7 separate regions of the Homo sapiens genome follow, and regions 1, 2, 3, 4, 6 and 7 are each linked to region 5. Evidence: promoter capture Hi-C in 16 types of primary human blood cells and fetal thymus (Javierre and others, 2016). All regions are on one chromosome and are shown on one strand. The core of a region is centred on a gene start or on the middle of the fragment in contact, and the rest is flanking DNA. Distances in the headings are between cores, read along the strand shown.

Evidence for each region. The method cuts DNA at HindIII sites, captures the fragments that hold promoters and counts their contacts. A CHiCAGO score of 5 or more calls a contact.
Region 1: a contact is called between a fragment that was not itself captured here and the fragment with the promoter of RSBN1L in region 5, in 2 of 17 cell types (monocytes and total B cells). The highest score is 6.5, in monocytes.
Region 2: a contact is called between a fragment that was not itself captured here and the fragment with the promoter of RSBN1L in region 5, in 2 of 17 cell types (monocytes and neutrophils). The highest score is 7.5, in monocytes.
Region 3: a fragment that was not itself captured here is called in contact with the fragment with the promoter of RSBN1L in region 5 in 10 of 17 cell types (monocytes, non-activated CD4 T cells, neutrophils and 7 more); the score reaches 12.6 in monocytes.
Region 4: a contact is called between a fragment that was not itself captured here and the fragment with the promoter of RSBN1L in region 5, in 1 of 17 cell types (neutrophils). The highest score is 6.3, in neutrophils.
Region 6: a fragment that was not itself captured here is called in contact with the fragment with the promoter of RSBN1L in region 5 in 2 of 17 cell types (non-activated CD4 T cells and monocytes); the score reaches 6.3 in non-activated CD4 T cells.
Region 7: a fragment that was not itself captured here is called in contact with the fragment with the promoter of RSBN1L in region 5 in 5 of 17 cell types (neutrophils, non-activated CD4 T cells, activated CD4 T cells and 2 more); the score reaches 7.3 in neutrophils.

What each region holds. Positions count from the first base shown.
Region 1 is chr7:77,313,336-77,317,079 of GRCh38, forward strand. It overlaps GSAP (gamma-secretase activating protein), which reads right to left. Exons shown (of 31, transcript NM_017439.4): 27 at 1,035-1,154; 28 at 153-214. Among named protein-coding and RNA genes, the nearest start is that of CCDC146-AS1, 66 kb to the left of the region's middle. RefSeq lists an enhancer at 2,757-3,258. The HindIII fragment of the contact is 3,785 bases long and covers 117-3,744 here.
Region 2 is chr7:77,225,606-77,229,468 of GRCh38, forward strand. All of the region lies in intron 2 of CCDC146 (coiled-coil domain containing 146), which reads left to right. All of the region lies in intron 1 of CCDC146-AS1 (CCDC146 antisense RNA 1), which reads right to left. Among named protein-coding and RNA genes, the nearest start is that of CCDC146-AS1, 21 kb to the right of the region's middle. The HindIII fragment of the contact is 4,152 bases long and covers 505-3,863 here.
Region 3 is chr7:77,190,603-77,194,305 of GRCh38, forward strand. All of the region lies in intron 2 of CCDC146 (coiled-coil domain containing 146), which reads left to right. FGL2 (fibrinogen like 2) reads right to left here. Exons shown (of 2, transcript NM_006682.3): 2 at 2,767-3,703. Among named protein-coding and RNA genes, the nearest start is that of FGL2, 7.4 kb to the right of the region's middle. The HindIII fragment of the contact is 3,370 bases long and covers 115-3,484 here.
Region 4 is chr7:77,209,334-77,212,781 of GRCh38, forward strand. All of the region lies in intron 2 of CCDC146 (coiled-coil domain containing 146), which reads left to right. Among named protein-coding and RNA genes, the nearest start is that of FGL2, 11 kb to the left of the region's middle. The HindIII fragment of the contact is 1,525 bases long and covers 1,437-2,961 here.
Region 5 is chr7:77,693,998-77,697,830 of GRCh38, forward strand. It overlaps RSBN1L (round spermatid basic protein 1 like), which reads left to right and starts at 2,462. Exons shown (of 8, transcript NM_198467.3): 1 at 2,462-3,058. The coding sequence starts at 2,473. It overlaps APTR (Alu-mediated CDKN1A/p21 transcriptional regulator), which reads right to left and starts at 2,268. Exons shown (of 2, transcript NR_134254.1): 1 at 1,899-2,268. RefSeq lists enhancers at 1,557-2,452, 2,453-3,348, 2,533-2,762 and silencers at 2,283-2,502, 2,973-3,292, 3,583-3,682. The HindIII fragment of the contact is 2,163 bases long and covers 1,811-3,833 here.
Region 6 is chr7:77,292,439-77,296,051 of GRCh38, forward strand. CCDC146 (coiled-coil domain containing 146) reads left to right here. Exons shown (of 19, transcript NM_020879.3): 18 at 514-762; 19 at 2,225-2,766. The coding sequence ends at 2,428. Among named protein-coding and RNA genes, the nearest start is that of CCDC146-AS1, 46 kb to the left of the region's middle. The HindIII fragment of the contact is 2,465 bases long and covers 491-2,955 here.
Region 7 is chr7:77,245,148-77,248,860 of GRCh38, forward strand. All of the region lies in intron 4 of CCDC146 (coiled-coil domain containing 146), which reads left to right. CCDC146-AS1 (CCDC146 antisense RNA 1) reads right to left here and starts at 3,561. Exons shown (of 2, transcript XR_007060387.1): 1 at 179-3,561. RefSeq lists a silencer at 2,159-2,208. The HindIII fragment of the contact is 6,811 bases long and covers 1-3,713 here.

The DNA of each region.
Region 1 (3,744 bases), core at 759-3,258, 380 kb before region 5:
CTGGGGACGGGTGGGATTTCTTGGAAGTGTTGAAAAGTGAAACAATTCAATTGACTTTAACCCAAAGCAAGTAAATGCTCTTTTTGCAAGAAGAAATTGAAGGAGGGTAATGCCAAAGCTTAGGGAGAAAATAAAATGTAACTCAGTATTACCGGAGGAAGCCGCACAATGATACTGAATTTCAGTTTTTCATTTTTCTCTGTATTATCCAGATCTACAAGAAAGTTAGAGATTAGCAAATGAAACAAATACCCATTTTGATACTTTAGCAAGTTAATATTAATACTTGAGTGGTTCATCTTGATAGGACATATCCCAACTGTGTATTCTCAAGCTAATCTAACAGCATTTTGGAAATTTTACTCTGACTCTCTGAATAAAAAGGGATTTTTCTATAACAGGCTGCCAGGTACAAAGCAATTTTATTGACTAACTTAAAACAGAAGGTACCTTGAGGAATGACAAATGCTTTCATATAAACAAAAATCATCTTAAAATACAATTGAATAATTTGAGTGATTATACTACAGAATTTAAAGTTCAAATTCATTTAATTGCCCCTCTCAATAATTTTCCTTGCATTTCTAGTCTAACTTTGAGATGACAGAGTTAATCAGCTGAAAATAAGCCATTTCGTGACATTTTCTTGAGAAACAAGCCTGCAGAGGTTCCTAGCCTCAAGTGCCCTCTTGCACAGAAAAGGAATCTAATAGTTGTATGTGGATTGAAAAGTCCCTTAGGACCTCGTGAAGGGCTCAGAAACCTTAAATTGGCCCAAAAGATGATTACAGGGAATGGATTGTGCTCACAGGACCAGCTGTATAATTTGTGGGGCTCAGCACAAAATGAACACGAGCAAGCCCTCGTTCAAATACTACTAAGAATTTCAAGATGTAATGCAGCATTAAACTGAGCAGGGCACTCTTCTGAGTGCAGCCAGGCTCTTGGTGACTGCACAGGTTGCACACCCAAGAAGCTAGCCTTGGTGGTGCTCAGGCTGGAACTAGCACTCTGGCAAACTCAGGGCTTCTTACCTTTCATGAGCCTTATGACAGCTGTTTCAGTGAGAAGCAACACTCCACTGTCAATGCAATGCAGCAGGTTATGCAAAGGGAGACACTGGACCCCGAGGATGGTGTGCAGAGTATGAAAACCTAGGATGAGAGATCTGGAGGGTAAACACAGTCAGCCAACATCTCCAGCAGCCCCCGGGGAATGGATTAGATCATGTTAATAAAGCACTTAGTTCAGTGCTTGGTGCCTGGAACCAACTGAATTTCTTGAAAACAAGGTCCAAGTTTCCTTCTCTGTATTATTCGTAACTAAATATCACGCTGGGTCTATAGTAAGTTTCCGGTAAGTATACATTCCTTGCTCCTTGGGTCTCTTCCTGCACAGAAACAGAGCAAGGGCCTGCTCAATGGTTTTACGGTTTGATATGTTTGTGATTCTACAGTAAGATAGCAAAAGAGTACAGAAGCATTTCAGATTTCGTATGTCCAGACTAAAAGGTTGTTGGGATGAGGACCATTTTGCTGAAGGGAAACAAATTTGGACCAGAAGGCAATAGTTTATATGGCTTATCTCTGGGTATGCCCTAGAGAAAGGCTTTTAGAGTCTACTTGGACTAAAGTATAGAAAAGAAAGAATTAAGACAATATGGCCAGATAGTAAATTTATAGGAATTCAATTGAGAGGCAGGCATTCTCAAGCCTGTCTCACGGGTAGAGCTACCCACAGAAACCCAGATCTCTAAGTATACTACTACTGACAACAGATAAAAACATCATGCATGGGAGAAGGTATCAGACCAGGAGAGAATCAAAACAGCTCTCTTGGAAGTGATGGCATTTGCGGGGAGCTTCAAAGGACAGATGCAATTCCTATCAGTGGAAATGAGTGCGGACAGTAGAAAAAGCCAGGTTTGGCATGAGCAGCCCTAGGCCAGAATCCAGCTGTATTACTCACCAGCTGCAGGCAACTAAGCCTTTCTGAGCCTCCATTTCTTCATCTCTAAATTGGAACCACCAGTACCTTTCCCACAGGGCTGCTTTGAGAACTAGAGCCAGGTCTGTGAAGAGCCTAGCATGCAATATAACAATAGCGACCCATACTGGACATGTACCAAGGCTTTCAACCTGTGTCCTGGCTCATCTGATCCTCATACAAAAGTATGGGGTGGGAATTACTAGATTCCCATTTCATAAATGGAAAAACCAAAAGCCAAGATTCACAGGAGCTAGGCAACTTGCCCAGGATCACAGAAATAATAATGTGTAAGTTGAAATTTGCATCAACTGTGTGATTGTAGGGTAGGCTTTCAACCATAATGTCACTGTTAATAACTGGCAGCTGTGTTAATAGAACATGAACAGAGGTCCGAAGATGAGAAAGCACAGGGCATATTCAGAAAATAGTAAATGATCCAGCTGGGTTGGAATCATATTAGAGGAGAGAAAGATTAAGAGGTAAGGTTGGAAAAGCTAATTTATTCAGCACATCCCTTCCACACACCTGGCAAGGGGCTAAGAGTATAAAAATGAGCAAAACAGGCACAACTGCTGCTCCCATACACCTTGCAGTCTGCTGGGGGAGGCAGACAATCAATTACAAAAAATAGACATTTTTAAAAATGTGACCAGTTCTGTGCTTATGAGTGCAGGTGACAGAGGTTGAATGCTGAATGATAGAGATTTATTAATTTGAGAGACTTTGAGGAGGTAATGAAAGTTTTTAAGCAGAACAGAAGATTTACCATTGGGATATTAATATGGCAACAGGCAAAGAATGAGTTGGAGTAATAATTTGCTACAGAAGGTATGAAGACCTGTAGAGAAGCTATTGCCTGAACGTGGATAAGAGGTAATGGAGGCACTGAATCAGAGAGGCATGGTAACATGTACAGGCTTTGCAACTCATTGAATGTGGGAATGACTGACAGAAGAATCATAGCCTACTCTTGGGAAGGTACCTGACAAAAGGATGATGCCCAACGAGCAGGGCTTGGATTCAGAGAAATCATGGGATTTTCTCTCTCTAAACACATGAATCACAAGCCATGGGGCACAGTCCTAAGTCCTTGTAACATCAAGGGTCAGATGAAGTACAGGCTCTGCCCACAAGCATGTGTTAATGGGCTAACAGGATGAGTCCACTAGCTTCCCTGAGTCCAAAAAAACTCCACTATTTTACTAGTTAATTAACAACAACGTTTTTCAAATGGATTTGGAAATTCTTCACAAAACTATTAGTAAAAAGTTACAAAATTATTTCTGAAGAAAAGTTTACACTAGATTATTGATGATATTGATTTTCTGGATTCAAATTTCCCTCTCCAGCCCTGTGTTCATATGCTAAAGGTCCCTGATGACCCTTCATCCTCTATCCCCAGGGCACAGTCCCAAGTTCAGGGACCTGTTCTTGGCCTCTATACATCAGCTCTGAGCAACAGAGCAAATTGGCTATAATTAGTCATCAGCTCCACCCAACTTTAATCCTCATCTTCCAGGGCTCCTGGCCTCCTCTAGCCAGCAAGTGCAATACAGTTCCTTTTTTTAAAAGCAAATGCCCTAGCTCTAAACCCTGACTTCCTTTTTGTGTTCCCCATTCTCTTCTTAACTTTAACCAATTCATGTTACAAGTCTCTGACAATCGTAACTCAAACAGTCATCATTAGTCCAATAGGCCTGGAAAGCAAGCACACTTACGCATGTGCATATAGAAACACCCTGAATTCATACAAGC
Region 2 (3,863 bases), core at 1,331-3,830, 470 kb before region 5:
ACTTGTGATATACTTGACTACTAGACTATGCTAGCCAGTAAAAAAGAAGAAGTAGGGCCGTGCGTGGTGGCTCACACCTGTAATCCCAACACTTTGGGAGGCCGAGGTGGGTGGATCACCTGATGTCAGAAGTTCAAGACCAGCCTGGTCAGCATGGTGAAACCCCGTCTCTACTAAATATACAAAAATTAGCTTGGCATGGTGGCGGGCACCTGTAATCCCAGCTACTCAGGAGGCTGAGGCAGGAGAATCGCTTGAACCCTGGAGGCGGAGGTTGCAGTGAGCTGAGATTGCGCCATTGCACTCCAGCCTAGGCAACAAGAGCGAAACTTCATCTCAAAAAAAAAAAGGAAGGAGTAGAGATTAAAAGGAGAGAAGCTATTACTGATGACTCAATGCCTAGGAAAAGGTAGGAGAGCATATATTTGAAAGCACAGGTGGAGGAGGAAAGGAATATGTGGCCTAATATTTTCTGTGAATGAGTTAGGTGTGTGAGAAAGCTAAAGCTTGAGATAACCTATGGGAAAAGTCAAAGGAAGCAGTTTTGAGAGCTCAATGCATTTGGAAACTACTTGAAATGGCCGTATTGTTTATTTCCAGCAGTGAGAGGGGAGCAGGCGAAAGGGAGATGAGAGTGGTAACCACTTATGCTTTCACATTTATATTACCTTCCAAAGCATGCCAGCCATTCCCCAGAATGAAGCCAACCCACTAGGTAATGTCAAAGAAGTCACAAGAACAGGGTAGGCAAATAGCTGTGACCACCTTGGACAAATCCAGGTTCCCTGCACACACCCACGCAAACACCTAATTCTTTCCTCATGCTGACCCCCTTCCAGATAAACTCACTTGGTGAAAGCTCTTACTGAGCTATTACTTCCTTGAAATGTCCTAGAATTTCCATTTTTGAAATTTTTTCCATATTGTTACATGTCATCCATGAATCATGAACTCTTTTTAAACTTTATCTCTAGAGTAAATGTTTCCTTCCAGTCACATAATTGCCAGCAGGGCAATTCAATAACACAGAATCTATTGTGAAATCATATTTATGAACTTATGACATTATATCTAACCTTTCATTGTGTATGCTCTTTGACAATTTAAGATTGAACTTTGTGCTATATTTCTTAGATTCTGCATTTTTGAAACATGACAAACTTGAGTTCTGCACCCACTTGTATCATGCAATGTGAAAATGCAACCATTTTCCATGTATGATATTGTTTATGAGTGAAGCATTTTTATCTGCTAGAACTTAGTGTGAAGTTTCTAACCAGGGATCGACCTGCTTAAAGAGACAGTTTATAATTTCACAGAAAAGTCACTTTTTGATGAATGTTGACGTCTAGATTATGATTTTTTATGTTTAAGGCAGCTAAAATCTATTCTCCACAGTTTAGTTTTTTTAAGAGAGATTTGTTTTTTTAGAGGAGACTGAAATAACAAAGTTTATCAACTAACATTCTGAACATCTATGACTTTACCTTTTCCAATTTATGTAGAAACTGCAAGAACATATTCAGGTGTTTTACCCTGTCAGCTTTCTTTGCAGGTTTGTAAGGCACCAAAGGCCAGCAGAATGATAGAGACAGAAAACAGGAAAGGAAACCTCTGTAGTTTTCCTGCTTTTCTGTGGCCATAAAACTAGCCAACATGTATCCTTGGCCCACCTACAATTAGGCTTCAAACCATTGCTGTTTTTTTGTTTGTTTTCTGAGACGGAGTCTTGCTCTGTCGCCTAGGCTGGAGTGCAGTGGTGCAATCTCGGCTCACTGCAAGCTCCACTTCCTGGGTTCATGCCATTCTCCTGCCTCAGCCTCCCGAGTAGCTGGGACTACAGGTGCCTGCCACCACGCCCGGCTAATTTTTTGTATTTTTAATAGAGACGGGGTTTCACCGTGTTAGCCAGCATGGTCTCGATCTCCTGACCTCGTGATCCGCCTGCCTCAGCCTCCCAAAGTGCTGGCATTACAGGCGTGAGCCACGGCGCCTGGCCACCATTGCTGTTAAAGATGGGACTCAACTTAGGGGAAATACAGTTGAGCATTCAGTAAGTCAGAGCTAGAATCTGCCTATATCTGCCACTAGGACCTGATCACAGTACTCTCTAAATTCTAATTCTCTCTAAATTCTGCTCTAATTCCCTCTTGTTTACAGTGATAGTCTGCAAGCACATTTTTAATAGCCTTTTGTTATTAAAAGTAATACATATTGGAAAAATTAGAAAACACAGGCAAGCAAAAATAAAAACATAAAAGCAGCACATTCTTACTACCCAGAGCACATCATTTTAACATCTTAGTTCTTATCCTTCTGGATCTCTATATATTCACATACTCATATGTAAAATAAGATCATCTTCTACGGACAGTTCTTGCTTTCTGGCTTAACAAGATGTCTCAGCTTCACTTTGTGTCTTCCCTGTACCAGACCTGAAATCAACCATTTCTAACACTTGCTGCTTCCTTTTAGTGGGAAATAAGATTAAAGACCAAAATGTATTAGGAGTGCTCATTGTTGTTAATGTGGCATTATTTCTAGACCATTATATATTTTTTAACCTTTAAGTTTAGTGATACAAGTGCAGGTTTGTTACGTAGGTAAACTTGTATCATGGAGGTTTGTTGTACAGATTATTTCATCACCCAGGTATTAAGCCTAGTACCTATTAGTAGTTTTTCCTGATCCTCTCCCTTCTCCTCCCTTCCACCCTCTGACAGGCCCCAGTGTGTGTTGTTTCCCTCTATGTGTCCATGTGTTTTCATCATTTAGCTCCCACTTATAAGTGAGAACATGTGGTATTTGGTTCTCTGCCCCTGTGTTAGTTTGCTAAGGATAATGGCCTCCAGCTCCATCCATGACCCTGCAAAGGACATGATCTCATTCTTTTTTATGGCTGCATAGTGTTCCATGGTGTATGTGTACCCCATTTTCTTCATCCAGTCTATCACTGATGGACATTTAGGTTGATTCCATGTCTTTGCTATTGTGAATAGTGCTGCAATGAACATACACATGGATGTGTCTTTATAATAGAATAATTTATATTCCTTTGGGTATATACCCATTAATGGGATTGCTGGATCAAATGGTATTTCTGTCTTTAGATCTTTGAGGAATCACCACTGTCTTCTACAATGGCTGAAATACTTACACTCCCACCAACAGTGTATAAGCATTCCTTTTTCTCCACAACCTCAGCAACATCTGTTATTTTTTGACTTTTTAAAAATTGTTATCTTTAGTTCTGGGGTACATATGCAGGATGTGCAGGTTTATTACATAGGTAAATGTGTGCCATGGTGGTTTGCTGCACCTGTCAATCAGCCCATCACCTAGGTATTAAGCCCAGCATGCATTAGCTATTTTTCCTAATGCTCTCCCTCCCCCAACTAACAGTAGCCATTCTGACTGGTGTGAGATGGTGTCTCATTGTGGTTTTGATTTGCATTTCTCTAATGGTCAGTGATGTTGAGCTTTTTTCCATAAAATTGTTGGCATTGGCCACATGTATGTCTTCTTTTGAAAAGTGTTCATTTCCTTTGCTCACTTTTTAGTAGGGTTATTTGGCTTTTTCTTGTAAATTTACATTCCTTATAGATGCTGGATATTAGACCTTTGTCGGATGCATAGTTTGCAAAAATTTTTCCCATCCTGTAGGTCATTTAATCTGTTGATAGTTTCTTTTGCTGTGCAGAAACTCTTTAGTTTAATTAGATCCCGTTTGCCAATTTTTGTTTTTGTTGCAGTTGCTTTTGGTGTCCTCATCAGTAAATCTTTGCCTGTGTCTATGTCCTGAATGGTATTGCCTAGGCTGTCTTCCAGGGTTATTATAATTTTAGGTTTTACATTTAAGTCTT
Region 3 (3,703 bases), core at 550-3,049, 500 kb before region 5:
AGCAAGGGGGGGCCCACTCATGTTTGGGAATTCGGGACACTCCATGTTTTCAAAGTATACCCATTTCCTCTCATTTCCACCTCTTTCCAGTCAATCAACAAAGGAGACCTGGCAAGCTTATGACTTAGTAGACATTGTGATCTGGCAATGCACAGAATGAAATTAAAGTTGGGAATTGGCCACCTCGGCTTGTTACCTCTGGGGAGAGGGACAGGATTGAAATTGAAGGTGATTTGTGAAGGAGTCTTTATTTTAATCTGTAACTTTTTAAAAAATTAAAGGATTCATGGATTTTATATTAAAATTAATTTCAAAATTATTCCTGCTTTTTTCTTCAGGAATTCAGTAGGGTGGAACAATCACTATTGGGCAGGTACAGCAATATGCCTCTGTGTGACATGTCCCCACAGGCATGTTCCTAGGACCCCTTCTAAAAGTTTGCCACTGTTACATTCCCAGTCCTATAGTATACAGTAAGTCCTCACTTAACATCATGGATAGGTTCTTGGAAACAGCAACTTTAAGCAAAAACAGCATATTGTATGCCATAGGAACTTCATTCTTGTTTATGTCAATTAGCTTATGGTAAAATTGGTTTTGTTACATGGTATGTTGTTTTAACGTCGCTGTTTCTGAGAACCTATCAACAGCGTTAAGTGAGGACTTACTGTATTTGATCCTGTCTTGCCATATTCTCCCTGGCTGTAATTGCTTCTCACCTATGTTCACAGTCTCTCATATCCGCAGATTTGACCCTACCCACTACTTTCCCAATCATAACTGTGGCCTCTTTAGAGTACAACTCTTTCTCTGTGGCAACATATTATTAATCACTTTGAATAACAATACTCATGTCTCAAATTTCCTTTACTCCTATTCACACAGATTGATTTCAGGATAGAACTTAGACAATATTGAATAATATATAATAAGGAATATGTAGGATGGCATAAGATCTAGGAGAGGTGCCAGGACCCCACCTACTGTCATCAGAGAACTCTGCCTATAAGAGATAACTATTTAGGGCCTGGCGCAGTGGCTCACGCCTGTAATCCCAGCACTTTGGGAGGCCAAGGTGGGCGGATCACGAGGTCAGGAGATCGAGACCATCCTGGCTAACACGGTGAAACCCAGTCTCTACTAAAAATACAAAACAAATTAGCTGGGTGTGGTGGCGGGCACCTGTAGTCCTAGCTACTTGGGAGGCTGAGGCAGGAGAATGGTGTGAACCCAGGAGGCGGAGCGTGCAGTGAGCCGAGATGGTGCTACTGCACTCCAGCCTGGGCGACAGAGCAAGACTCCATCTCAAAAAATAAAAAATAATAATAACTACTTAGGATGATGATGATTTTTTTTCTCTGTCACCCAGGCTGGAGTGCAGTGGCGCCATCTCTGCTCACTGCAACCTCTGTCTGCCAGGTTCAAGCAATTCTCCTGCCTCAGCTTCCTGAGTAGCTGGGACTACAGGTGTGAGCCACCACACCTGGCTAATTTTTGTATTTTTAGTAGAGATGGGGTTTCACCATGTTGGCCAGGCTGGTCTCACGTGATCCGCCCACCTCGGCCTCCCAAAGTGCTGGGATTACAGGCATGTGCCACCAACACCCAGCTGGGAATGATGATTTTTAAATATATATGTTCTAGGTGCTTTATATATGTGATTTAATCCTCTCAATAACTCTATCAGGCAGATTCTATTACTATTCCTATTTTATAATTGAAGGAACCAAAGAACATTAAGTGACTTGCCCAGGATCATACAGCTTGCAAATAGTGGAGCTGAAATTCAAACCAGGAAGGCCAGCTCCTGAGTTCCTGCTGTTAATCATGGGTGATAAGACAAAACCCAGTGAGGAAAGAGGATGGCATTCTATCTAGACCAAGGAAACAGTATACTAAAGGCAATGAAAACATTAGAAAGCGTAGTTTGTTTGTGTACAACAAGGCGTTTAGTATGGCAGAAGTATAAGTAGTGGTAAAAATCATTTCATGAAGGGACTTATTTGCCAGATTTTATCTTGTAGAAAATAAGGCATTGTTGGCCGGGCACGGTGGCTAATGCCTGTAATCCCAGCACTTTGCGAGGCCTAGGCGGGTGGATCACGAGGTCAGGAGATCGAGACCATCCTGGCTAACATGGTGAAACCCCGTCTCTACTAAAAATACAAAAATTAGCTGGGCGAGGTGGCAGGCGTCTGTAGTCCCAGCTACTCAGGAGGCTGAGAGAGGAGAATGGCGTGAACCCAGGAGGCAGAGGTTGCAGTGAGCCGAGATCTCGCCATTGCACTCCAGCCTGGGCGACAGAGTGAGACTCCGTCTCTAAAAAAAATAAAATAAAATAATAAAAAAAAAGAAAAGAAGGCGTTGTTGAAAGTTTTTTAAGCAGGACAATAACATGATCAGAATTGTACTTTTGAACAATCCCCCTGGTAGGGATGAAAGTTGGACTGGAATAGACTGAAACCAGAGGTACAGACTATTCAGATGCGTTTGTGTTGTCCTAAGGAGATGAAGAGGGCTAACCAGAGCAGCAACACTAATAACGGAAAAAGAGGAGAGGAAGTTGAATGCCACAAAATGAAACTGAAACTTTTGTATTTCAAATGTTTCAACAGTATTCTAGAGGGAAGTAAGATAATGGTGTTCCTCTATTTGCCTCTGACTTCTTGTTAATGAAATAGTACTCATTAAAGTCTTCAGAGTCACAGATATTGTATAGCTGAGGTAAGCATTTTACAACTTTTCAGACACAAGTAAGTACATAAATATTATTTTACAACCAACAATATTTAATATTTCCACATTGAAGAATAGATGTGATAATTAAATCTTTTATAAGGTTTTAAAAAGACATGAAACATAAACCTAATTATACATAAAAGAAAAGAATTTTAAACAAGAGCTTATTGTGATGACATTACTCATAACTTTTACCTTTAAAACCTTTTCTTGGGTAGCTATTCAAAAGTAAAGACCACAAGTTTTGTTGCCCAGATTTCTTATGTTTTGTATATTTAAGCTCTTTATTTATTGAACAGATGTGTCATTAATTCATTTGGAGCATTACTATTATCAGTAAAATTTGATTTTTTTTTCCCCTCAGTCATAGGTAAATCAGCTCCACCTGGAATTTCTAAGGACCCAGTTTTAGTCAATATTTTCAAGTAATCATGACCTCAGAAATAGTCTTAATTAAGATAACAAATATTAGCCATCAAAATGGAACCAAGACAAGATTCTAATGTTTGTAAACAGTCAATCCATATTTATGAATATTAGCATATATTGGTGAATAGTTAAGGCAAAAGGTTCTAGCAGATGTAATCTATTTCCATCAACATGTTAAATGTTATAAAAGTCTAGAATTATTGGTAACATGAAATGATTCCAAAATGGAATTTCTGTGTTACAGAATTTACTAGAAAAGTGCTGTGAAAGTATAATGAAAAATAAAGTGATCCCTTGAAATAATGTGGATAGAACAAGCTTTTGAATATTTACATGGATTAATGAATTATTTGCCAAATTCTCCTGAAGTTATACCTAGTTCCCATTAAATTAATGGACACCGTGTATATGAGCATATACCTTTCTTTAGAACTATGTTTTGTGATAAGTCCATTTTTACTCACAGGAATTTACTTAAACTTGTACATATATTAATTATATATACTAAATGACAATGACCTTATCTGAAACAAAT
Region 4 (3,448 bases), core at 949-3,448, 480 kb before region 5:
TAAAGCTCCAAAAGAATCTCCTTTGACTTCATGTCTCACATCCAAGCTACGCTGACACAGGGGTGGGCTCTCAAGGCCTTGGGCAGCTCCACCCCTGTGGCTCTGCAGAGTACAGCCCCTGCACCTGCTTTCATGGGCTGGCATTGATTGCCTGTGGCGTTTCCAGGTGCACGGTGCAAGCTGTTGGTGGATCTATCATTCTGGGGCCTGGAGGACGATGGCCCTCTTCTCACAGCTCCACTAGGCAGTGCTCCAGTGGGGACTCTGTGTGGAGGTTCCAACCCTACATTTTTGCCCTGAACTGCCATAGTAGAGGTTCTCCATGAGGGCTCCACCCTGGCATCAGACTTCTGCCTGGACATCCGGGCATTTCCGTACATCCCTTGAAAGCTAGGCAGAGGCTCCAAAACCTCAACTCTTGCCCTCTGCACACCCACAGGCTCAACACCACATGGAAGCCATCAAGGCTTGGGGCTTGTACCCTCTGAAACAACAGCCCATTCTGTACCTTGACCCCTTTTAGCCATGGCTGGAGCTGGAGCAGCTGGGACACAGGGTGCCATGTCTCAAGGCTGCACAGAGCAGTGGGGCCCTAGGCCTGGCCCACAAAACCATTTTTCCCTCCTAGGCCTCCAGGCCTGTGATGAGAGGGGCTGCCGTGAAGATCTGTAAAATGCCCTTGGAGACATTTTCTTCATTGTCCTGACTGTTAACATTCAGCTCCTCTTATGCAAATTCTCACAGCTGGCTTTAATTTCTCCCCACAAACTGGATTTTTCTTTTCTACCACATAGTCAGCCTGCAAATTTTCTAAACCTTTATGCTCTTCTTCCCTTTTAAATATAAGTTCCAATTTCAGATAATCTCTTTGTGTACACATATGAGTGTATGCTGTTAGAAGCAGCCAGGGAACATCTTACATGTTTTGCTGCTTAGAAGTTTCTTCCACCAGATACCCTAAATCATCTCTCTCAAGTTCAAAATTCCACAGATCCCTAGAGCAGGGGCACAATGCCACCAGTCTCTTTGCTAAACCATAGCAAGAGTGACCTTTATTTCAGTTCCCAATAAGTTCTTCATCTCTATCTGAGATCTCTGCAGCCTGGATTTCACTGTCCATATCACTATCAGCATTTTGATCACAACCATTCAACAAGTCTATAGGAAGTTCCAAACTTTTCCTCATCTTCCTATCTTCTTCTAAACCCTCCAAACTGTTCCAACCTCTGCCCATTACCCAGTTCCAAAGCTGCTTCCACATTTTTACTTAACTTTATAGAAATGCCCCACTTCTCTGGTACCAATTTTCTGTATTAGTCCATTCTCACATTGCTATGAAGAACTACCTGAGACTGGGTAATTTATAAAGAAAAGAGATTTAATTGGCTCATAGTTCCACAGGCTGTACAGGAAACATGGGTAGGGAGGCCTCAGGAAGCTTACAATTATGACAGAAGGCAAAGGGGAAGCCAGCATGTCCTATATGGCTGGGGCAGGAGGGAGAGAGTGTGAAAGGGGAGGTGCTACACACTTCCAAACAACCAGATCTCATGAGAACTCACTATCATGAGAACAGCAAGGGGGATATCTGACCCCTAATGCAACCAGCTCCCACCAGGTCCCTCTCCCAACAGTGGGGATTACAATTCAGCATGAGATTTGGTCAGGGACACAATGCCAAACTATATCAATCTTGTAATAGTTTTTAATCTTTTAAAATTGTGAAGTATATTAGATATACATTAGGGTATCTATAAATGTATAATTCAGACCAAATACCCAAGTAACCACCACCCAGGTCAAAAAATAAAACATTAGCTCTCAGTAATTCCTCTTATCCCCCTTCACCCCCTCTAACATAGCGACTATCCTAACTTTTATTATCATTTTTTTCTTGTGGTTCTTCATAGTTTTACCACCTAAGCATGAATCTCTAAACACCTTCCTTTTGCTGTGCCTGTTTTTTAAACTTGATGTAAATAGAATCATACAAAATGTATTTTTTGTGTCTGGATTATTTAACTCAATGTTATATTTGTAAGAACCATTGATATTATTGCATGTATTTTTCTATTGTATGTTTAGTCCTCTATCTGTTGTATTTCCAATTGACATTAGGATTGTTTCCAGTTTTCAACTATTAGATATAATGCTACTTGAGCATTCTTGTACATGTCTCTCCATATACTTGTACATGCACCTTGAAGGGTTATTCACCAAGAAATGGAATTGCTTTGTTACAGGGTTTGTGCTGCTTCTATTTTATTTTTTTTATTTTTATTTATTTATTTATTTATTTTGAGACAGAGTCTCACTCTGTCACCCAGGCTGGAGTGCAGTGGCGTGATCTCAGCTCACTGTAACCTCCACCTCCTGGATTCAAATGATTCTCCTGCCTCAGCCTCCTGAGTAGCTGGGATTACAGGCGTGCTTTTCCATGCCTGGCTAATTTTTTTATCTTTAGTAGAGATGGGGTTTCACCATGTTGGCCAGTCTGGTCTTGAACTCCTGACCTCAAGTGATCGGCCCACCCCAGCCTCTCAAAGTGCTGAGATTACAGGTGTAAGCTGCCGCATCCAGCCTATTTACTCTTTTAAACACTAACTTCAAACAAATAGCCAATGTCATGCTTAATTGTGAAACTCCAGGAGTGTTCCCATTAAAATCAGAAATAAGGAAAGGGTGCCTGATATGAGCATGATCATTGCATATAATTCACTTTCAAAAAATGAATTATATGCAATGCACTTAGACAGAAAATGATGCATACATATGGGAAAGAACAAATGACCATTATCTGTAGCTGACATAAATGCCTACATAAAAAATACAAAATAATATTATAGTACAGTAAGGTGACTATTTTCAAAATAAATATACAAATACATAGGTTTCCTATTTAATAATAAGTTCAATACATATTGAAGAAAAATATATAGCTTTCCTATTATAATAAGAATAAGCTTTCCTATTTAATAAGAATAACAAGTTCAAAAACATATTGAAGGCTGGGCATGGTGGCTCATGCCTGTAATCCCAGCACTTTAGGAGGCCGAGGTGGGCGGATCACGAGGTCAGGAGATCGAGACCATCCCGGCTAACATGGTGAAACCCTGTCTCTACTAAAAATACAAAAAAACAGCCGAGTGTGGTGGCGTGCACCTGTAGTCCCAGCTACTTCAGAGGCTGAGGCAAGAGAATGGCATGAACCCAGGAGGCGGAGCATGCAGTGAGCCGAGATCACGCCACTGCACTCCAGCCTGGGTGACAGAGCAAGACTCCGTCTCAAAAAAAAAAAAAAAAAAAAATTGAAGAAAAAAATCCCATTCACAGTGATATGTCTCAAATAAATAAACAAATAATAAATAAATAAACAAAAAAGAAAAGAGTAAATTATTCATGGTTATTGGCTAAGCCTGTAAGTGTCATTAGCAGATTCTAGCCTACA
Region 5 (3,833 bases), core at 1,212-3,711:
AATCAAATATGCTAACTCAACAGGTAAGAAAACGGAGGTCCTAACAAGTGAAGCAGCCTGACTAAGGTCACGAAACTAGTGCGTTAGCAGATGATTTCCAGCCTAATCCACTCAGTCCACTCTCCCACCAATGCTAATTTTCTTGAAGACATCTGCTGCCAGTCAATTCCAATTAGAAAGTTTTCATGTTACATATTAAATACTGTTATTACTTTAAAAAATTTGAGGCACATAAAAATAAGTCCATAAACCAATATTAAATTTGACTCCAAAACATTCTTTTTTTTTTTTTTGAGATGGAGTCTTACTCTGTCACCCAGGCTGGAGTGCAGTGGCACGATCTCAGCTCACTGCAACCTCCACCTCCAGGGGTCAAGCGAGTCTTTTGTCTTAGCCTCCCGAGGAGCTGGGACTACAAGCACGCACCACCACGCCTGGCTAATTTTTTTTGTATTTTTAGTAGAGACGGGGTTGCACCATGTCAGTCAGGCTGGTTTCAAACTCCTGACCTCAGGTGATCCACCCATCACCGCCTCCTAAAGTCTTGGGATTACATGCGTGAGCCACCCACCACTCTTGGCCGAAAAAAAAAAAATTCTTAAAAATATTCTTAAAAAAATGAGTAAATAGGCACTGTCGCCCCGGGTGGAGTGCAATGGCACGAACTCAGCTTACTGCAACCTCTGCCTTACAGATTCAAGGGATTCTTCTGCCTCAGCCTCCAGAGTAGCTGGGACTACAGGCGCATGCCACTACGCCCAGCTAATTATGTATTTTTAGTAGAGGCAGGGTTTCACTATGTTGGCCAGGCTGGTCTCGAACTCCTGACATTGTGATCTGCCCGCCTTGGCCTCCCAAAGTGCTGGGATTACAGGTATGAGCCACCGCGCCCGGCCACATTCCTTATCTTTTAAGCTAAAACCCATCTCCCCAAATTGCTTATTTTCGAAGCAAAAATCAAAGCACATGCTTACAAAACATCGAACACGCAGTGTGCTTACTAAACGCTAAAATACAGAAACCTAAAAAAACAATTCTTGCTTTTCAAACATCCATAAATAATCGCCAACGAATTTTTCCTGGCAAGTCTACGTTATAATAATAATAATATTATTATTATTATTATTATTTTTTGAGACGGAGTCTTGCCCTGTCGCCCAAGCTGGAGTGCAGTGGCGCAGTCTCGGCTCACTGCAACCTCCGCCTCCTGGGTTCAAGCGATTCTCCTGCCCCAGCCTCCCCAGTAGCTGGGATTACAGGTGCGCGCTTCCATGCCCAGCTAATTTTTGCATTTTTAGTAGAGACGGGGTTTCACCATGTTGGTCAGGCTGGTCTCGAACTTCTGACCTCGTGATCCGCCCGCCCCGGTCTCCCAAAGTGCTGGGATTACAGGTGTGAGCCACCGCGCCCGGCTATAATAATTATTATAAAATTCAAATCTTAAGGCCGCACATGGTGGCTCACGCCTGTAATCCCAGCACTTTGGGAAGCGGAGGTGGGCCGCTCACCTGAGATCAGGAGTTCGAGTCCAGCCTGGCCAACATGGTGAAACCCCGTCTCTAATAAACACAAAAATTAGCCAAGCATGGTGCCGGACGCCTGTAGTCCCTGTTACTGGGGAGGCTGAGGCAGGAGAATCGCTTGAATCTGGGAGGCGGAGGTTGCGGTGAGCCGAGATCGCGCCACGGCACTCCAGCCTCGACAACAGAGCAAAACTCCGTCCCAATAAATAAATAAATAAATAAAATAAAAATCTTAAGGGTCTAGTCACAACAGTTCAAAAGTCTCCAAAGGGAGACTCTCACCTTCAAGCTTGTAAGTAATACTAAAGTTCTAGATTTGCTGGAAGTTATCTCCTTCAATGGATTACAGCACATGATCTAGCAATAATAACGTACCTTGTCACCACATCGAATGATTTTGAACACTTCCCATCAATCGACTACCGACTAACAAAAAGAAGGACTTGATTCCCGGCAATTTTTTCTCTTCTGAACTGAGCATTCCCGAAATCCAGCTTGCTGAACGCGCAGATGCAGGGTGAGAGGCACCCCAGGAAAAATGGAAGGGAAAGTGGTACAAGTTAAAACAGTCTTCGTGGCCGCAGAGACGATCGCTACCTCGGCCATGGCAGATCTGGGGGTCCGGGGCGGGGGTTCTTCCCTGATACCCACCGGGCACGCGAGTTCACGCCAGCGACAGTGGAAAGCCCTCCCCTCGCAGCGCGCTCCGCCACTAGCCGCACCCCGCCGAGCTCTGACCTCCGAAGAGGGTCCCTGTGGCGATCCCGCCCCTTCGTCTGATGTTTGTGCCTTTGATTGGCTCTTAGGTGGATCCCTCAGCGTGGCTTGCCCAATGGAGCAATGCCGGCTGGTGGCCTGGCCGCTCCGCCCCTTCCCTACCCCTCGCGGAGGGCCCGCCCCCTGCCCCGCGCCGGCTAGCGGAGGAGAGTAAATACAACAGGAGCGCAAAATGGCGGAACCGCCGAGCCCCGTGCACTGTGTCGCTGCCGCGGCCCCCACCGCCACCGTCTCGGAGAAAGAACCGTTTGGCAAGCTGCAACTCTCCTCCCGGGACCCTCCGGGTTCTCTGTCCGCCAAGAAGGTCCGGACTGAGGAGAAGAAGGCACCGCGGAGAGTGAACGGAGAAGGGGGCAGCGGCGGGAACAGCAGGCAGCTGCAGCCGCCGGCAGCACCTTCGCCTCAGAGCTATGGCAGCCCCGCGTCTTGGAGCTTTGCCCCTCTGTCTGCTGCTCCCTCCCCGTCCTCTTCTCGGAGCAGTTTCTCTTTCTCCGCTGGCACGGCCGTTCCCTCCTCAGCCTCCGCTTCCTTGTCTCAGCCGGTGCCGCGCAAACTGCTGGTCCCTCCTACGCTGCTGCACGCTCAGCCTCACCATCTCCTCCTGCCCGCCGCCGCCGCCGCTGCCTCGGCTAACGCCAAGTCGCGCAGACCTAAGGAGAAGCGGGAGAAGGAGAGGAGGAGGCACGGTCTCGGTGGGGCCCGAGAGGCCGGCGGGGCCTCCCGGGAGGAGAACGGGGAGGTGAAGCCGCTGCCCCGAGGTGGGTGCCGTGCGGGGAGGGGGAGGGGAGGGCGCCGTGGGTCCCCGCCGCCCCCTGGCGCCCACGGGGCCCGGGAAGGGGGAGCGCGGCGGCCGCGTGCGCCGGCCTGGAGGGGCTGGGAGGCGTCCGGTTTTCAGCAGAGGATTTTGCAGTTCCCAAGGGGACAGGAAATGGAGCCTGTAATTTCGGTTGCAGAGAGGGGGATGGCCGACACTCTTATTTTCTGTATCGTTTCTTCCTCCCAGTTAGTGCGCTGCAGGATTTGTGAAAATCCATCTTGAGGACTCTCCTAGGTTTGTTTGGCTAGGGAGAGAGATGGAGGGAACGGGATGGGGGAAGGGTTTGGTTTTGTAAAAGATGCTTGATTGATTGTTAGACCACTTAGACGTGGTCGCGGGAATTCGTATTTGTGACACAGCGTTCAACCCCGGATAATCCTGTCAAAAAAGGGGTGTGGAGAGAGCACTGGCGTCAGCTGGAAGCTACCAGAGGCCTGAGCTTTTCATCCCTATTAGGGAAATGAGGTAGCGTGCAGGGCCCGAAGTGCGCTGTTTCGTAAGGTACCCTCCCTGCACCCTACTCTCCGCTGCGTATTCTTAAGTGTTTTGGGTGGTCCTGTTTGAAATACCACCCTTCTGAAAGAATTTTCAGCCATATTCTTTTTTTCCCTGCAGCAAATGATAAAACCAGGAGCTTTGACGATTTTTCGCCAGATCAAGCGGCTGCAGAATGTTTGAGCATTAGAAAAAGGCGAATTCTTAAGGGTTCTTGTCAG
Region 6 (3,613 bases), core at 473-2,972, 400 kb before region 5:
CCCCAGCGCTAATAAAAATACAAAAAAAATTAGCCGGGTATGGTGTTGGGCACTTGTAGTCCCAGCTACTCGGGAGGCTGAGGCAGGAGAATGGCGTGAACCTGGGAGGCGGAGCTTGCAATGAGCTGAGATTGCGCTACTGCACTCCAGCCAGGGCGACAGAGCGAGACTCAGTCTCAAAAAAAAAAAAAAAAAAAGAACATCCCTTCACCTCTCCTTCTTACCTCTTAAAAATGGGCACTAAACTGTTCTCCTCAATGTTATTCACCTTGAAATCCAGTAACTAGATAAACAAATCCTTTTCTTGTTCTCTCCTTGTCCTTACTTACACAGCCAGGGTGTTCGGCTCAATATCTGCAGTCTCTTCCAGTTCTTAATTTCTGTGAATTCCAAGTTAGACCCTCCTTCCTTCAGACAAAAATGCACCCCGCCATTATAGACAGCCAGCAGCCTGCCATTTTAAGTCTTTGTGGACTGTATACATAGACTAAGCTTTGGGCTCTTTAATTCTAGATGAATGGCTATCAAAGAAGGATCAAAAATGCAACTGAGAAAATGATGGCTCTTGTTGCTGAGCTGTCCATGAAACAAGCCCTAACCATTGAACTCCAAAAGGAAGTCAGGGAGAAAGAAGACTTCATCTTCACTTGCAATTCCAGGATAGAAAAAGGTCTGCCACTCAATAAGGAAATTGAGAAAGAATGGTTGAAAGTCCTTCGAGATGAAGAAATGCACGCCTTGGCCATCGCTGAAAAGTCTCAGGTAGGCTTTGGCTCCTGTATTGCATTTCTAAAGGGTGCCAGCAGGGGTTGCATTCAGGCAACCCACAGTTATCCCACAGTATAAGAAAAATTTCCCCACTCTACCACACACAGTCCCAACAGTCGTTAGAAGTGTATTTAAGATATTCTATGATAAGTCAAAGTGCAGTAATCCAGAGTGCTACAATACTCACTGAAGAACACTTAGCAAGCACAGGGCCCACCCCATAGCCTTACATCCTGGGCTGCTGAGGCTGAACATCATGGCCTTCCACCAGCATAGCAATGACCAGGCTGGCACTGGCCTTGTCCATAAGTCTCCAATCTCTGTCTTGGCACCTCTGCTCAGACCACATCTGACTGTTCCATGTTCATCTCCTGTGGCCTCCACAGCATACAGTGAGGCCTCCACCCACATTTTAGGTGCCATGCCTTCTGCAGATGCTTGATGTACATCATAGGCCCCAGCGCCACCCCTTTCTTTTCCCACCTTAGGCCTCTGGCCTAAGACTAGGTCTATTGCTGACTCCCCCTGCAAGTTAGATAGCAGATCTTCTGTCTACCCCCATGACCTGTCAGTATTCTTAGACTGGAATTAGGCATCTCTTTCCAAGGAGTCTACATCCTCCAGATGTACAACTCACTCAGATTGCCAAGTGGGTATCACCGAAAGGGTCCCTATTTGCTCCTGAACTCAAGACAAAACTGCATTCAGAACACACTAGGAATACCTGAGCACAAGTGTAAATTACGTGATTTATAATTTCCACACCACCTGGGACTGTTCCTTTCAGGGCATTCAGATTTTACCTGTGGTGTCCCACTGCCATTTATTAGAGGGCTTTTCAGTGCAGTAAGTGATTACTCTATTTTCCAGAGGCACAGACAAAATCTTGAAAACGTTGAGGCTCAGGGCAAAGCTGGTGACCATTTTCCTCCTCTGGTTCCACTTTACTCCTCTACCTCTTCCATTGTAACTTTTGCTCACCAATGACTTACCAAAGGAAATATGTTGCTCTGCCTTTGTCAAAAACAGGGAAATAATTAGTGCTTGATGACAGATATTGAGGTGGAAACATAGTTAAGACCCACAAAGCAGTCTTTGAAAAACACTAAACTCCAGGATTAATGTGATGCTTAAGCAATACAGCCCATTCCAATGAGGTGTGGGGGTGTGTGTGTGTGGTGTGATTCCACCCTCCTACCCTAAACCCCAGGAATAATGTGATGCTGAAGCAATACAGCCCATGCCAATGAGAGGTAGGTGTGTGTGTGTGTGTGTGTGTGTGTGTGTGTGTGTGTGTGTGGTGTGATTCTACCCTCCTACCCCTCCCATCCCTTTGGGGAGTATCAGCTAGCACGGTCAAAGACTGTCCAGACCAGCTGTGTCTTTTGGGACCTAAGGATAAAGTGACTTCACCAGAGTTTTCAGAGAACTGAAAAGGAAAAATCATTCTTTGCAGGAGTTCTTGGAAGCAGATAATCGCCAGCTGCCCAATGGTGTTTACACAACTGCAGAGCAGCGTCCGAATGCCTACATCCCAGAAGCAGATGCCACTCTTCCTTTGCCAAAACCTTATGGTGCTTTGGCTCCTTTTAAACCCAGTGAACCTGGAGCCAATATGAGGCACATAAGGAAACCTGTTATAAAGCCAGTTGAAATCTGAATATGTGAACAAATCCAGGCCTCTCAAGGAAAAGACTTCAACCAGGCTTCCTTGTACCCACAGGTGAAAAATGTGAGCATAATACTTCTAATATTATTGATAAGTAAGGTAACCACAATTAGTCAGCAACAGAGTACAACAGGGTTTCTATTTACCCACCAACTACTATACCTTTCATGACGTTGAATGGGACATAGAACTGTCCTACATTTATGTCAAAGTATATATTTGAATCGCTTATATTTTCTTTTTCACTCTTTATATTGAGTACATTCCAGAAATTTGTAGTAGGCAAGGTGCTATAAAAATGCACTAAAAATAAATCTGTTCTCAATGAAGTACGGAAATGGACACAGTGGTCTTTGTTTATTAAAGAAAAAACAAATACTGTTCAATATACACACTTTAAAAAGAAAGAATGGCTATTTGAAAAGGAAAATACCTCAAGTATTGCAAAGGCATAACTCACTTTGTTGAATAAGAAGTAGCACTTAATCTTGGTAAATCTAAATTACATAAAGTAGTGAAGCTTGTCATGGCTTTTTGCATTTTTTTCATTTTATTTTTTTGACAAATAATAATTGTACCTACTCATGGGGTACATACTGAAGTTTCAATACATATAATGTATAGTGATCAGATCAGGGTAATTAGCATATACATTCAAACTTTATCATTTCATTGTGTTGGGAATATTCAATATCCTCCTAGCTATTTGAAACTGTATATTGTTACCTATAGTCATCCTACAGTGGTATAGGACATAGGACTTATTCCACCTATTTCACTGTAATTTTGTGTCTATTAACAAATCTACCCCATTCCTTCCTTTCCTCATCCTTTCCCTTAACCTTCCCAGCCTCTTATATCCGCTGTTCTACTTTTAGCTTCCACATGAGTGAGAACAATTTTTAGCTTCCACACATGAGTGAGAACATGTGGTGTTTAACTTTCTGTACCTGGCTTATTTCAATGAACATAACATCCTCCAGTTCCTTTCATGTTGCCACAAATGACAGGATTTTGTTCTTTTTTGTGGCTAAATAATATTCCGTTGTGTATGTGCATATGTATGTGCATATGTGTGTGTGTGTGTGTAGCTCCCATTTTCTTTATCCACTTATCTGTTGTTGGACAGACACCTAGGCTGATTTCATGTCTTGCCTATTGTGAATAGCACTGCAG
Region 7 (3,713 bases), core at 439-2,938, 450 kb before region 5:
TAATTAAATCTATGTTGCAGTAGTTTCTGTTTCTGGATTAATATTTATGACTTGATAAGTATGCAGTTCAGGAAATAATATGTAATCTATTTAAAGTTAAATTAATACATTGTAAATCCATAATAAAGTAATTAAATACAGTTGAGCTTACTTTTTGAAACAAAACAGGAGTACTTACCTCTCTAAACAGTTTGAAAAGATTTTTCAGTACTCTCTTCAACCTTTGCCTTGCCTTGATTGTGTTACCTTTTGGGGCTTCCCTGTTTTCTAGTAATTCCTAAAATTTTACAGCAAATACGTTGCGTCTTTCATGCAAAATCTGACACATTCTGACCAGTCTTGGTCAGTTGGGGGAAACAAGGCTGTGGTGAGCTGGCACTGTCTGTTGCACTGTGAACCCGGAGAGTGGGAACACTCAGGCCGCACACGTGCAGGGCTGTCCTGACGTGACCCTGACCTTGGTGACTGTCTACTCTCCCGTGGCTGGTTCCTGTGGTCCTTGTTGCACATTCAGGGTTTATTAGTTGTTTTCCATTCTTGGTCCAGTGCTGATAGCAAAGTTGGAACCAAGAAACAACAGATCTGGTAACAAAGGAAAGGAGGAATGATCTTAGCAACACATCTGGAATTCCAGAAAATTAGAATGTGACAGAAGAGGCATGTAGGTACTCAGGAGTAGTCACAAGGAAAAACTCATAGCTAGAACAGATTTTACCTTAACTTAAAAAAAAAAAAAAGTTTGCTCTTCTGTGGCAACAAATATCTTAAAAGAACTAACTTAGTTAGAACAGGTTTCTCTGAATGTGTTTCTCATTACTCAAAAAGAAGCACCTGAGACACTTGTTTGAAAGGAAGATCCCATCCAAAAAGTAATGATTATGATTTTTGCCCCAGCCCACCGCCCCCACCCAAAGTGACATTTGCTTATGTGACTCTGACTCACATTATAGTTAGAGGACCGTGGGTTCCAAAGGTGGTTCTCAGCCCTGACTGGTCAGTCACCAGAGTCTCCTCTCAGTGATCATTCAGTCTATGCATAAACACTTCCAGTGACAGGAAGCTCTCAGCCTCCCACAGAGGCTCACGCCAACTTTGGAAATGCTCCTACACTTAAATGGTTGTTGGATTTGTTTATAAACCTACCTTCTTGCAACTTTCACCCATCCATGCTGTTTCTACTTCTGTGGTGAATGATGCCTCTCACACATGTCAGCATATCGGGCTTCCTGCATTATCTCTTCACCCATAGATCCTTAAAACCAAAAGCCTTTTGACGTTGCTTTAGAAAGGAAGTAAATCCTAAGGAGCTTTGATGTTGAAGCACCCCTTAGTCAGGAAAGCTGAAAAATGTCAGATTTAAGTTTTAATGCAAGTTTGAAAGGTTAGGAGTTAATACATACCAGGAGGCATAGAAACAGAAACATGTTTTTGCCCCAGTAATCCCATGCAAAAGTGATAACCCAAAAGGAGAGAAAAAGATATAATGCATAAAGATATTGATATTTATGAAAGTGAAAAATTGGAAGCAATCTGAATTCTCAAAAAATGTGGAATATTTAAATAATGCATTCCAGAAATACCTTGTTACTGAACCTCTGTAGTCAGAGCGGTATTTGTGTGTCAGTTTAGCTTTGACTGTGTGACTTTGGAAAAGTTGCTTAACTCCTCAGTTTCTTCATTTGTACAACAAAAATCACAATTCCTACTTAGCAAGGTTGTGAATTTTAGATATGATAAATTTAAAGCACCTGGCACACAGTATGTTCAGTATATGATAAATAATACTTAAGATTATTTTATTATGGTATATCTACCCAGTAGAAAACCTTGTAAATAGCTATTATTATAAAGTCTGTTTAGCAACTTAGGAAAATATTTTAATTAAATGTTAGGTAAAAATGGATTCAACCACACATATACATTTAAAATAAGTTTATTAAAAGATAACAGGGAAAATAAAAATGATCAACCATGTGTGATGGAGTAGGATTATAATCTTTAAAAATAGAAAAATACATTCCTTTTAGAGGAAATAAGTCAGTATTTCCTAATAAAAAAAGAAAAATGTATCATAGAAATGTAAGTTTTAAATGTCCTAAAGAATTAGTCATTTTATGTTTGTTTAAACATAAAAATATACTTAAAGGAAAGACCATAAGTCACATCTTGTGAAAGAGCTTGCTGTCACCATTTTGAAACTCAGAAATACTCAGGTTGCCTTTACAACCGAAAGATAGTAGCACACTACTACCCCCTGGTGGCAGCATGCCCGAGGTGTAGGATCAATACCTGGGAAGTAAAATACCACTAATGTATATGCAAGCTCTAAAAGCAAAGGCATAACTATTTAAAGATCTAAACTCAGCTTCAATTTGTGGTCTAGACAACTAATCTATATTAAATTCAATGTGACACATGTATTACAAAATTCATCTACATTATTGCAAATAAAATGTCAAAAATAACATAATCCCATTAAAAAGTAGGCAAAGGACATAAATAGACATTTTTCAAAAGCAGACAAATGGCTAAGAATCAAATGAAAAAAGTTCATCACTAATCAGAGAAATGCAAATTAAAACCACAATGATATATCATTTTATACCAGTCAGAATAGCTATTATTAAAAAGATAAAAAATAAGATGTTGGCGGAGTGCTGAGTAAAGGGAACACTTATACATTGTTGCTAGGAATGTGATTGGTACAAGCTCTATGGAAAACAGCATGGATATTTCTCAAAGAACTAAAAATAGAACTACTAATCCATCTGGCAATCCTACTATTGGCTATATACCCAAGAAAAAGAAATCATATCCAAAAGATACCTGCGCTCATATGTTTATTGCAACACTATTCACAATAGCAAAGATAAGGCATCAACCTAAGTGTCTGTCAAGAGATTGGATAAAGAAAATGTGACATATATATACAATGGAATACTATTCAGTCATAAAATGAAATCATGTATTTTGCAGTAATATGGATGGAACTGAAGGCCGTTATCTTAAGTGAAAAAAACTCACAAACAGAAAGCCAAATACCACATGTTCTCATAAGTGGGAGCTAAGTAATGTGTACACGTGGACGTAGAGTGTGGACTAGTAGATACTGGAGACTTAGAAGGGTGGGAGGACAGAAGGAGGGTGAAGGATGAGAAATGACTTAATGGGTATACATGTATATAATTTGAGTGATGGTTGTACCAAAAGCCCTGACGTCACCACACTGCAATATATCCATGTAACAAAACTGCACTTGTATCCCTTAAATGTATACAAATGAGAAAACCTGGTGTGCATGTGCTTTTAGCTCATGTTCCTAGATCTATGGACTAGTGGGATCTGGTTATTTGTTATAACCAGTGGACATAATTGTCTGTGTATTCATTTATTTCATATGATTTTCCAAGTGTGATCAATACAAACTTTAAAATCTTTCCATATCGGGAAATCATATGACTTCTTTGGCACTTAATAGTTAGTCATTAAATAAAGAATAGCAAGAAAAATGAAAAATATTTCTCTAGATTTCTTCAGGAAATCTGGTCAATAAAACAGTTCAAAATACGGTTATTGGAAGAAACACGCAATTATATCGAACTCATTTTGTTTAGAACATTCAAGCTATTTGAAGCAATTTCCAAAATGTCATTCTAGCATCGTGTCCTCTCATCTTATTAGTTAAAATAAAAATATAAACTTTTTTTGTATTT